Linked DNA regions of Homo sapiens: regions 2, 3 and 4 are each linked to region 1. The links are contacts of gene promoters, found by promoter capture Hi-C in blood cells and fetal thymus (Javierre and others, 2016). All regions are on one chromosome and are shown on one strand. The core of a region is centred on a gene start or on the middle of the fragment in contact, and the rest is flanking DNA. Distances in the headings are between cores, read along the strand shown.

What was found. The method cuts DNA at HindIII sites, captures the fragments that hold promoters and counts their contacts. A CHiCAGO score of 5 or more calls a contact.
Region 2: a contact is called between a fragment that was not itself captured here and the fragment with the promoter of DAPL1 in region 1, in 2 of 17 cell types (endothelial precursors and megakaryocytes). The highest score is 6.6, in endothelial precursors.
Region 3: a fragment that was not itself captured here is called in contact with the fragment with the promoter of DAPL1 in region 1 in 1 of 17 cell types (non-activated CD4 T cells); the score reaches 6.3 in non-activated CD4 T cells.
Region 4: a fragment that was not itself captured here is called in contact with the fragment with the promoter of DAPL1 in region 1 in 1 of 17 cell types (activated CD4 T cells); the score reaches 5.9 in activated CD4 T cells.

The regions. Positions count from the first base shown.
Region 1 is chr2:158,793,808-158,796,997 of GRCh38, reverse strand. DAPL1 (death associated protein like 1) reads right to left here and starts at 1,681. Exons shown (of 4, transcript NM_001017920.3): 1 at 1,568-1,681. The coding sequence starts at 1,625. The HindIII fragment of the contact is 930 bases long and covers 1,481-2,410 here.
Region 2 is chr2:158,031,267-158,034,456 of GRCh38, reverse strand. It overlaps a transcript of UPP2 not described here. Among named protein-coding and RNA genes, the nearest start is that of UPP2, 69 kb to the left of the region's middle. The HindIII fragment of the contact is 6,606 bases long and covers 1-3,190 here.
Region 3 is chr2:158,052,652-158,055,841 of GRCh38, reverse strand. It overlaps a transcript of UPP2 not described here. Among named protein-coding and RNA genes, the nearest start is that of UPP2, 48 kb to the left of the region's middle. The HindIII fragment of the contact is 3,422 bases long and covers 15-3,190 here.
Region 4 is chr2:158,092,423-158,095,612 of GRCh38, reverse strand. It overlaps a transcript of UPP2 not described here. Among named protein-coding and RNA genes, the nearest start is that of UPP2, 7.9 kb to the left of the region's middle. The HindIII fragment of the contact is 3,550 bases long and covers 1-3,190 here.

The DNA of each region.
Region 1 (3,190 bases), core at 432-2,931:
GTGGCAAGACAGGCTGAAGGATGACACTTCTTTGTTCCCTTGTGCTCAGTGGGGAGGCAAAAGTCTGCCTTCATCTCCATTCTAATTATCCAAAACCTCTTATCTGTAGTGTCACAGTTCATAATAATTAATTGTCATGCCAGAGGCATTGTGACATGCTTGATGGAGTCATGGTGTGCTATGTACACAGAGTAATTAGCAATCATTAGTGGTGGGGACAGAAAGTTCCCGGTGGTTTCATTCGAACTTTCATTTGGTTAAGTTTATGTCTGTGTTCTTTGTGCATAAATGTAGTTTAGCAAAACAGGTTTCATCTTAGCCATTTTATGAAGGGTTGGAGTGGAAACAACATAATGAGAATGGAGTTCTTTTTTCTTTTGTCTTTGTCTATGTAAGGAGCCTGTCTTCCAATGATTTGCATATATACTTCCTGACTATTAGCTAGCATAATTAACTTTAAATATAGGTAATGTTAAATATTGCTAAATTTGATTACAAATATAAAACATCAGTAATCTACCAGAGGAGATCAGACCAAGATGTCTAGAGCTGGAAACTCAGAATGAGTAGTAAAATCTGGACTCTTTTTGGCCAGGCTACCCGCCGGAAAGCCACCAAAACAATGTTACATTTTGACTCTCTGTGAAGACAATACCCGCCATCACCCTCTGCAGCAAAGATTATTGAAATAACCTTGGCCTAGAGGTGCCAGAGAATTAGACAGTAAATATGTTTTTGTAAATGGAGAAAGGCAAGAACAAAGCAGTCAAGCTTTTGAGTTCTTTCTTCAGTAAAAAAGAAGGAAGGCAGTTGGAAGAATATAAAACTGACTAAAAATAGGCCTGTACACCTCAGCCAATCTATATGAACATATGGTTAAGTACAATAAAACTAATTTCCATATTCCAGAGAGTCAATATAGATAGCATAAATTAAAAAAAAAGACAACTATGGATGCTTTGCAAACACCTTGACAGCTACTTTTTCCAGTCAGCCTCCTCAAGTCCTGTGTCTTTATTTAAAAGTACTTCTCAGCTTGTTGACAGGTAAATACATCCCCAAAGCCTGAGGAGGGAGAAAGAAATGTGATTGTTGTCCTCTGTGCAGAAGCTGCTTTGCCTGGGTAGGAAGTCACATGATGCACAGGCATCTTGGGGAGACTGAGTCTTACAGCTGGAACCTCTAAAGAGAAAGGTTTCCATGGTAGCAAATCATCTTCCTGGTGTAGATGTGTCACTGCTAATCTACAGCCAGGGCCCCGTGAAAGGAATGCTGCCTCGAGGGAGGAAAGGTGCAACCTCTCTACCTATGCCTTTCCACAAGCCCCAAATCCATACACTGCCGTAGGTAATTAGGTTTTAACTCACTGGGGGTCTGACAAATCCCCGGGTGGATTTACATACAAGCTAAGAAGGATCAAAGACATAAGAGGAAGTCAGGCTGCATGGAGTTAAAGTCATACTGGGTAGACAGAGAAGCTTCCGTCTGTCGGGGTGCTCCATGGAAGGCATTGGTGGAAGAGGGGAGCAGCAACAGCCTGCAGGACTGAGGGCAGGTGGCAGCCTACCTGCAGGAGGATGTCCCCCTTTCCGAGGGGAGAGCAGGTCTTGCACTTCATTTGCCATAGCGTGTGCCAGTGCCAGTGCCAGTGCTGGTGCTCTGGAGGCTGAATGCCAGCTGTGGCTGCCCCACCACCGCACCGGCTTTATAAAGGCAGGGGGCAGGGCCCCTTAAGGGCATTGCTGAGCAGCAACAGGGCTTGTCATCCAGCTCTCTGGGAAACCTGCATCTCCTTGGCAAGTTTTCTCTTAGAAGAAGACTTTCTTCTTCCCTTCATCTGGGAAGGCAAGGTAGATGTCTGCAGGAGACAGGATATTCTTTTCTTTCTTTTTTTTCCACAGGAGGAAAGGGAGAGGATGGAGTTCAGTGGAATTCTTTTTCTCTCCAACCGTTGATCCCTCAAGTGTGTATAGTGCACCTGCAATGTAACAGGCTTTTGTCATATTCTGGCATGACAAGGGGGCCAAGACAAGCTCTTTGCTTCAGGACATCTGTAGTCTTTCTAAAGAGACAGGTATAGAGCAAAGTCCTGTGCCTCTGTCCCAGTTTTTGCAATTATAAGCATTTATACTAAGAAAATAATTGGAAATGTATACAGAGATTTCTGCGCAAGGATGGGAATCATATGCTTCTTTTCTTTTTAAAATATTGATGGGAATCAAGATAAACATCTCCAAATACAGAGGGATAGTTAAGATGAATCAAGAAATCACTGTGAGAGTATACCTTACAATCATGTTTTCAAATAATATTTAATGATGTAGAAATATTAACGATAAGATAGTGAAAAAGTAGACAAGAAACCAATCAATGCCAATTTTGCTAAAAAGGAAAAATACAACTTTAAGCTTAGCCATTATTGTAATTCCAGCGCCAATAAAAGTTTAGCATGTGGCAGATATTTATAAAAATTTCTTTGTTCTTCAGTACAGTTAAAAAACAACTTGAAGAGCAGTTGTCTGCTCTTCGAAAAACCCTGTTAAGAAAATAAAAACAAGCTACAAACTGGGAGAAAATATCTGTAAAATGCATTTCTGATGAAGTACCGACATTTAGAATGTATAAAGAATTCTTACAACTCAATAATAAGAAAGCAGACAACCCAATTAAAAATGGGCAAAAGATTCAAATAAAACATTACAAAGTAAGGATATTGACAACACATAATCACACAAAAAGATGCTCGACATCATTAGTCATTAGGGAAATGCAAATTAAAGCCACAATAAAATACCACTACATATGTATTAGGATGGCTCAAGACAAGAAAAAAAAGGAAAATACAAAATGCTGGTGAAGACGCAGAGCAACTGAAACTCTCATACATTGCTGGGGGAAACGCAAAAAAGCAAAGGTGTTCTGGAAGTCAGTTTGACAGTTTCTTATAAAATTCAACATACACTTACTATATATGACTAACAATCCAATTGCTAGGAATTCTCCCAAGAGTGATGAAAACATATGTACACACAAAACCCTATGTGCAAATGTTTATAACAGCTCTATCAGGATTGCCAAAAGTTAGAAACAACTCCGAAGTTCAACTGTAGAATGGGTAAACAGATTGTGGTGTATCTATATCATAGAATATAACTCAGCAATAAAAAGGGAAACATGGATGAATCTCAAA
Region 2 (3,190 bases), core at 430-2,929, 760 kb after region 1:
ATCTTAGAACTTACTGACACCTGCTGGACGGTTTCCTTCTCTCTGAAAAGCATCTGAGCAGAAGCCTTTGCCCTATGTGTGAGGTCGAAGGAGCCAGGACCTTGGCTTCTGCACTGGAAGAGGAACAGAGAGCTTTCCCTGCCCTGCGGAGTGCTGTGTCTGCTCAGTGAAAACGTACCTCCTCCCCACAGAGAGCAGACTTGAGAGTCCCCAGGCAGCTTCAAGAACAAGCACCCTGATGGTAAAAATGCATGCAGGAAGGAACACCATGAAGAGCAGTTCAGAGGTGGAAGGTTGGAATTCATGATCATGGTCAAACTCCTAGATTCTTATGGCTTTTCCTCCTGGAGAGACTGAACATACAGCTAGCTTGAAAAGTATCCACTTCCAAGTGTGGAGCCTTACACTGTTCTCTGGGTTGCCAGAGCCAGGAGATGCTGCTTGACCGGGTCTGTGTTGCCCCAGAGCAAATCCTGAAGGAAGTAAAGGTGACCCTTGGTACTGTCCACTCTCAAAACATCTGGTTGTCTTTGGCTGCCTTCTCCAACTCCTAATGTTTTCAGGGCAATGCACTCTTCTCAACAGGTTGGAATAAGCAAATAAACTAATTTCATTGCATCCTTGTGAAACTGCATGTTTTAAGAGAACCTTGGGGTGAGATTTGTGCTAAAGTCCAGTGAATCTCTCCTAATGGTAGCATTTTAAACCTGAGGATAGGCTAATAACAGAAACTACTTGGAAAAGTGGGCTTGTGGAACCCCTTTAATTATAACGTGTTGGACAGCTGCCTGCAGGTAGATCTTGCATAGAACTAGTTAGTTATTGCTGCTATCTTGCCAAGGAATTGCCCTACATGGAGACCAACTGCTGGACCGCCCATTCCCCAGCCTCTTCTCCTTCTTCCCAGGAAAGAGGAGGAGTACTCACTGGCTGGCTGGCTGGCTGGCTCCCCTCAAGCTCCCTGGAAGATCCCTTCTGGAGAAGCTATTCTTCAGCATTCCCTCCTGGAACCACCCATCCCATCTGCAGTCATAAGAGCACCCCTGAGTCTCATCTCAGTTTTCCTCCCTAAGAGCCCAGCTAAATGCAGAAAGCAGGAGAGTAGGTGAGTGTGAGAGCATCTGTAAGCCTTTTTGCCGCCAGGGCTCTAGTGTGGCAGAGAGACCTCCCTGGGAGTGGAGCTATACCCTTCCCTATACAGGAACACAGCCTGCCCAGGCCAACCTCAGAAACTAAACACCTTTATTTCAAGAAAGAAACACCATGCTCAAAGGTCCTCCACCTTTGGGGCCCCCCTCCCATCTTCAGTATGCTTCAGGCCAGAATTTAGGTAGAGCTCTGAAGTTTGAGTTCTAATAGCTGGGTGTTGCCTACATTTGGTGTTCTAAATGACCCCTGGCCTCCTAGGGGTAATTATACAGCGGGATTTGAGGGTTTAAGGATGGGTAGGCCAATACTGGTAAATACCAGAAGGAATGTACAATTTCCCCCTAAAAGCCTGTTAGGGCCAGAGCCTGCAGAGATGAAAGAGGTCAGGAAAATGCCATGATATTACTTGCTTCCTACCTTAACATTTGGCCTCTCTGTGTCCCTGCACAAAGAAACCTGTGCTGCCTGTCAGATATGAAAAGCATTGCTATTTAGCAACTCAAAAACCATTAGAGGATTTACTTCAATAACCTGGAACTCATGGATTTCCAGAATCCAGCCTTTGTAGTGCTCTCTAATTTTATGATCTGTATCCTCACAAATCCTCCTCTGTCCCAGACATACTGTGTTCCAGCACAGTCTTTTGTTCACAATGCTCCCCGTAGCCCCAAATGCAGCCCTGAGTCTTCCTCTCCAGTGATCTCAGTCCCAGCCATGTTTCAGCACCTCCCCCATGTCCCACCTCCTAATGAAGCCCTCCTCTGCCACTGCCCTCACCACCCACAGCTCTTAATATTTCCCCTGTCCTATGTCATACACTTCCTTAGGTTGTTGCTTATATTTTCATGTAGGCAGCCTTTGTTCTGGAAGACCACAGGCCCCTCAGAGGTAAGCTCTTTGTCATATACCTGTTTGACTCCCCAGTTCAAACCCAGAACTTTTCACCACAACTTAGCCCATGGAGGGGGTCCCCTACATGGCATCCCTGAAAGATGTTTCCCCAGTCTCGCCATGAACATTTCTGGTGACAGGATGTGCATGACTTCATCCTGACCCACTCCAATATTGAATAGCTATAAGTTTTATTAAGTTCTTATTTCTACTAAGCCAAAATCAGCAATATCTGCTCCCAATGCTGCATTACAAGCAGCTGCTAGCTCTCAATTTTTGTCAGGATTCTCTTCTCCAGAGCAGAGATTCCCCAATTCTTTTGATCTTCATCTATCATAGTTTACAGACCCTGTACCATTCCGGCAGCTCTCTCCTGGGAAATTTCTGGTTTCCAGAGTCTCTCATGAAAGTTGCCACCCAGAGGGGAACACAATATTCAGCTGTATGAAGATGTGTGCTCTGAATGATGAACATACTCGAGGGAGGTATCTTGGTGATAATGGTGATGATCATGATCACGATCAAATTCTAACCACCTTTTAAAACACGAGGAAATTGCTAAAGAAAGAACGCTAGTATTTTACCCATCCAAGGGATTCCAGTTTTGAAGAAAACCAAAAATGTAGGAAATGCAGTCACCTGGATTGTGGCAGACATTGAATCTACTTTCTCAATGTTATTTCATAGCCTTCTGATGGTAGAGTTGTGGTTTGAGTGAGTTATACAAAGAAGTTCATGTATCTGATTAAACAGCTTTATGTGTTACCAACTGGAAAGATAACTATGGCCTTCCAAACCGACACTGGCTGCCTCTGCAGATCCTTGTTAGAATAGAGCTGGCTCGGAACCTCAGCGGTCCTGGAGATGTTCCAACAGCTCAGGTTTCCCAGATCTCTGCACTCCTCACCCATCCCTAAGCCTCCTCCAGGGCCTCAAAATCTCGGAAGTCCCTTCAAAGAGCCAAATTAAGAGAATGAAATCATCAAATGTATGAAGAAAACCACCAGGAAGAAACAATTTCCTTTTCTCCAAGTCCCTCAACATACCAAGCAATGCCTTACGTAGGTTTAGGGCTTGGGAGGCCAGATTATGCTTTAGTTCTTGAGGGCCTTTTATGTAGCCACAGGACCTTACGTGAGTGAATTCTCCT
Region 3 (3,190 bases), core at 476-2,975, 740 kb after region 1:
TGACCTTTTAAGCTTAAATGGCTGGCTGTGAGGACAACACAATCTCCGCCATGAGCAGAATGCTTAGCTTAGAAAGAAACCAACACAGGACACAGCAGAGAGGCCCTGGGACATTGCTGGAAATGCTGGAGTTGGTTATGCCTGAATTCCCTACCCTTCCTTGACATCATAGTTGCACAGCCTGTTAAATACCCATTTTTAACTTAAATATCACAACTTTCAAAAATTGTATAAAAGAGAAGTTCATCATGTTATGGGAATACTTTTAGAGGGCTATCACTTAGGAGTGTCAAGAAAGACAGCTCTGAGGATGTATATCCTTGAGGACATTATGCGAAGTGAACAAGCCAGTCACAAAAAAAAATACTGTATTATTTCACTTCTGTGAGGTACCTGCTATGATTTGAATGTCCCGTGCAAAATTCAGGTTGAAACTTAATCCCCAATGTAACAATATTGAGAGGCAGGGCCTTTAAGAGGTGATTGGGTGGTGAGGGCTCTGCCCTTATGAATGGAATAATCCATTCATGGACTAATGGATTAATGTGTTATCCTGAGAGGGAAACTGGTGGCTTTATAAAAGAGACCCGAACCAGCACATTAGCATGCTCAGCCCCTCACCATGTGATACCCTGCACCGCCTTGGGACTCAGCAGGGAGAGCCCCCACCAGCAATAAGGCTCTCACCAGATGCGACCCTTCAATGTTGGACTTTCCGGCCTCCAGAATTGTAAGAAATAAATTCCTATTCTTCATAAGTTACCCAGTTTGGGGTATTCTGTTATAAGCAACAGAAAATGAACTAAGACAGTATCTGAGTAGTCAAACTAGTAGAGACAGGAAGTAGAATAGTGGTTGTCAGGGGCTAGGGAGAGAGGGGAATGGGAAGTTTAGTCTAATGGGTACGGAGTTTCAGTTTTGCAAGATTAAAAGAAGTTGTGGAGATGGATGGTGGTGATAATTCACAACACTGTGAATTTATTTAATGCCACTGAATTGTATATACACTTAAAATGGTTAAAATAGCAAGTTTTATGTTTTGTGTATTTATTGTAGTTTAAAACATTTTTAATGGGAAAAAGATTTGTTAGCTCAACATCATGTAGAAGTCATTGACTATTTATGGGGATGAGAAGAACCAATTAAAATACTAGCAGCAGATGTTTCTGGAAAAGGCAGTGAAAAAGCTGCAAAACTAGTCTCCCAGCAAGCCCTTAGTACACACCAGATTCTCAAAAGTCACTGGCTTTGGGATGGTTTTCATGCTTTTTCTCAGCCTCACTCTTTCCCATGTCCCACTACAGAAATTTCAGCACAATCTCATATTATCAGAGGAAAATGACTTTCAATATGCAAAGCCCATGATTCTCCAAGGGAACATAGAGAAATACATTAATTAATTTCTCTCACTTCCTTCTTTCTCTACACATTGCAAGGATTTAAAAAAAAAAAAAAACCTCAAAATAACCAACAAAGCAAAAACATGAAAAAGTAAACCAGGCATTTATCAATTATTTATAAGCTATATTTTTCCCTCTTGCACTGTTTCTTTCTTTTTATTTATTCATTTATTTACTTTTCCTTGAGACAGGGTCTCACTCTGTCACCCAGGCTGGAGTGCAGTGGCACCATCTAAGCTCATTGCAACCTCCCCCAGGTTCAAACCATTCTCATGCCTCAGTAGCTGAAACTACAGACGTGTGCCACTGCGCCCAGCTAATTTTTGTATTTTTAGTAGAGACGGGGTTTCATCATGTTGGGCAGGCTGGTCTTGAACTCCTGACCTCAGGTAATCCACCCACCTCGGTCTCCTTTTGCACTTTTTCAAAAATGCAGACTTTTATTCAACACAGCTACTAATATTTTGCTGTAAGTCACCACAAAATTGTGAAAATGCTTGTGACAGATAGTTACATTGTCCCATCAAACCTGGTAAAGAAAACCCCTTCTTTGGAATAACACTGCATTAGCTTTTTCACTATTTACTTTTTCCAATTAAGAAGGCCTATAATCTGTCTATGCCCCATTCTCCACATTTGAATTGTAGAAGATAAATTCCTCACACTTCGAGTAAACTATGGTAATGTGTGAGACATCCTGTGGCTAAAATCCTTCAAATTCCCTGGAAAACCTAATCTATAGCTTCATAAGATTATTTATAAACATGTTAACAATTCTGCCAAAGGTCAAGTAGCTACTGTATGGATAATGATTTACCTAGAAATCAAAGCCCTATCCATCCTTCCATCCATCCATCCATTTGCTTGTTCTACGAATGGTTATAGAATGGTCCTGAATCCAGCCCTGTACATGGTACTGAGCTAGGCCTGTACAAGATACAAGCAATATGGTATGGGAGTTAGGCATTCAGACATTGGAGTCAGACTGCTTGAAATTGAACTCTGGATAACCATGATCACGAGTCTTTCCAAATTTCAGTTTCCTTATCTAATATACCTGTTCCTTGAGAATTTGGGGTGTACTAAATGAGAAAATGCATATAAAGTGCTTAGCACAGCAGCCAGCACATAACAGAGCACCCAGTGTATGTTAGGTATTATTATGAAAGTATGTAAAACCCAACCCTTGCCCTCCAGGTTTTGTTAGAAAGGCTACATCTTTCTTACTTATTCTTCTAAATCAGGACTTCCCAAAAGGCTATTGTTATTCACCACACACAGTTGACACCCAAGTCTTCTACCACCTTCTTTACACTTGGTGTGGGGGCTTCTACACACCTCCTGCTAGAAAGGTGCTCCAGCTTATCTACCGGTTCCAGGGGCACCTCCTTTCTTCTTTTCCCATCCTTTCCCTGTAATGAGGAGATTTGTGAGGTGATTGAGGAGCCCTGCTTTAAATCAGGGATTGGCATACTACAGCCCTCAGGCCAAATCTGACCCAATGCCTGTTTTTGTAAATAAAGTTTTATTGGAACACAGCCATGTTCATACTTGTATGTATTGTTTGTCGCTGTTTTCAGACTATAATGGCAGAGTTGAGTCTTGGGACTGAGACATTATGGCCCAACAAACCTCCAATGTTTACTATCTGGGACTTTACAGAAAACATTTACCAGTTCCTACTCTAGATAATGATGATGAAGATGATGATGACGACAGTGAAGAAGACAAGCCACTTCTGCCATTTATTGGGCAAAAGGCAATAATATTAATTCTATTCTACAAATAAA
Region 4 (3,190 bases), core at 277-2,776, 700 kb after region 1:
ATGCCTGAGATCCTATAGTGAGTAAATGGAGATTGGAGTTCAGATCTAGATCTGTGCAGCCACAAAACCATGAAAACTCTTTCTACTCTGCTTCTGGTACATGGTGGAGTCCATTAAAGAAGACAAAGTCCAAGGAGAATGGCCTCAACAAGAGAAGGGAATTTGATCTGGGTGTTGAAGGTGAAGTAGGACTGGGATGTAAGGAACATCTCTCTGCCACATTTTACCCTGCTAGTCATCAGGTTGTTGATTTAACTCATTTATAGGAAAAGAGGGCACAGTTAAACCATAGCAGCTGTGTGTTCTTTGAATGCTGATGAACAAGATGGCCCCATCAAAATGATGGCCCAGTCCTAAAGCTGATTTTAAAGTCATCTCATTGCCAAATTTTAAATTGACCCTTAAAATGTCTCTCACACACACTTTACGATTAACTCATCTCAGGCTCATCACTTCCCTATGATTTTACCCAAATAGCAGGGCCCAACTCACCACCCTGTCTGGAGCAATTTCTGTCTGCCCCTGAGCTGTCCCTGAAATATTAGTTAAAGGGTATGAGGGCTGAGAGGCTCTGTTTCTGCTGGTCTCCTAGCCTGGCTTCCTCACTGCCTGTGACTGGCCATTCTGGTGACTTCAAGCCTTGGAGATTAAAGCCCGTGTTAGTCTTTCAGCACCTGATGAAAGCGCTTAACCAGATCATGAAGTACATTGGGAAATCAGCCTCCACAGCTGGAGGAAGCTCTGTGAGTTTGACAAACCCCACACTGAAGGGAGAGGGGGTGATTTTCCTGGGAACTCAAGGAAGGTTCAGTCCTAACCTCTAACACACACCACAGATTATTACTGCTGCTGCCCAAGAGGGCTCAGATGGGAAAATAATGCTAATACATTGTGGAGGTGGTGAATTCTAGGCCCCCAAAGTCATGAAATTTCAAAGCTGACTGATTCTAATTTAGGTTTAGCTGAGTGAAAGAGAACAGTATGTTTTATGGAACTCTCTTAACATTACTAAGTGCAATATATTGAGTTAACCATTAATTTTTTTTCTAAGGAAGTAGAAAACCTTGGTTGTATAATCATGGTCACATTGACATTTCTGTAAATGCTTCACCTTAGGCATGTCATGACTTTTCAAAAATGTTATTCTTTTGAACACTTTACTTGGTTTTTTATTTAAAGTAACTAAACAGAAAATACTGTTGCTGTGGTGATTGTTAGGTCTTTGTGACTACTTCATGTTAGTTACTATAGTTAAAATTTTTAATTTTAAAACATTTAAACATAAAGGTACAGATATATTAGATGCCTGTGTAGTTACTACCCAAATTTAACAATTGTTACATTTTGCCATATTTAACACATTTTTTTTTAAAGGAAAGATTTCATTAAAGCCCTGTCACCTTCCTTACTTTAGATTACCTTCACTTTCTTCCTGAAGGTAATCACTGTCCTAAAGGTGAAGAGTTGGTAGGTATGCTTTTGGGGTATATGTTAAAACTCGTACTTATAAGTATGTACTTAATAACTACATGAGCAGGTTTAAGGTGTGTGCGTGTGTGTATGTATATGGTATATGTATATATATGGTAGATATGTATATATAAGAATCATATGTATATATAATATATGGCATATATATATAAATGTAACATATACTATATATATATTTTTAAAACTGGCTTTTTTATGTTGCTTCCAATTTTTTCCTGTAAACATCCTTATGGGTATCTTCTTGTGTATGCACATAAGAGTTTCTCTAATGTGTGGTAATAATATGTTTGCATGTATTCAGTTTTACTAGATAGTATTACATTGCCCTACCTAATAGTTTTACCAAGTTACACTTTTGTCAACAGTGTATAATAAACCCCATTTCCCCATATTGTTGCCAATAAATCTGATGTTGTTAGCCTTATAATTCTTTTGTTAATGTGATGACTGTAAAATGGTATCTCTTTGCTTTATTTCATTTCCCTGATTACTAGTGAGATTAAACGCCTTTATATATGTTTGGCAGTCTTTCAGCTTTCTTCTCCATTCTTTGCCCGTATTTTCTTTTGGGTATTTTATTTTTGTCTTACTAATTTGTAGGAGATTTTTATATATGATGAATACTGATCCTTTGTTGGTTATATATATTGTCCTTTACTTCCAAACTTTCCATGTCATTATGTTTTAGGAGTGTATCAGGTAAACAATACATCAATGGATTTTCAAAAAGTTGTCTTTTATCTATGTTTAATACATTTACAAATACTGTGATTCCTGATATATTTTTACTCCTTTCTTCTTATTTTTTTTCTAATTGTGTGTGTGTGTGTGTGTGTGTGTGTGTGTGTGTATGTTTCTTTTTACCGCCTTCCTACATTCTATAGAATGATTAAGTTCTCTGTGCTGGGCGCAATGGCTCACGCCTGTAATCCCAGCACTTTGGGAGGCTGAGGTGGACAGATTACTTGACGTCAGGAGTTTGAGACCAGCCTAGCCAATGTGGTGAAACCCCATTTCTACTAAAAATACAAGAATTAGCCAGTCATGATGGCGTGCACCTGTAGTCCCTACTTCTGGGGAGGCTGAGGCACGAGAATCACTTGAACCCGGGAGGCGGAGGTTGCAGTGAGCCGAGATCATGCCACTGCACTCCAGCCTGGGTGGCAAAGTGAGAAAAAAAAATGATTACATGATTCTTTGCAGACCCCATTTCCCTCTGTTATTTTGGAAGTTATATATTTTATTTCTATTCTTTCAATAGTTACCCTTACATTTCAACAAGCATACTTAATACAATTCAAAGCTAATTAATACCTATACTCTTCTGCATAACACAAGCAACTTGGAACAATTTAACTCTAATTACTACTTCACATTTTGGTATAAAGTAACTTAATCTATCTTGTTTTCATCCCTTCCTCCCTTTTAGTCTTATGGTTACCACTTTGTTGATAGTTAATAATAATTTACATTATCCATGTCTGCCAATGTCTTTGATCACAATTGCTTCTCAGATCTCCTTCCTTCTGGGTTTCTTTCTTTCTAAAGTACATTATATAATAGTTCTTCAGCATGGGCTTTGAGCTGAAAACTATCTTTGTTTTATCCTCATTTTTGAGTGACTATTTAGCATGGTCTAGAATTCCAGATTGCCAGTGATTTTCCCTCAGCACTCATGGGATGTTTATTCATTATCTTC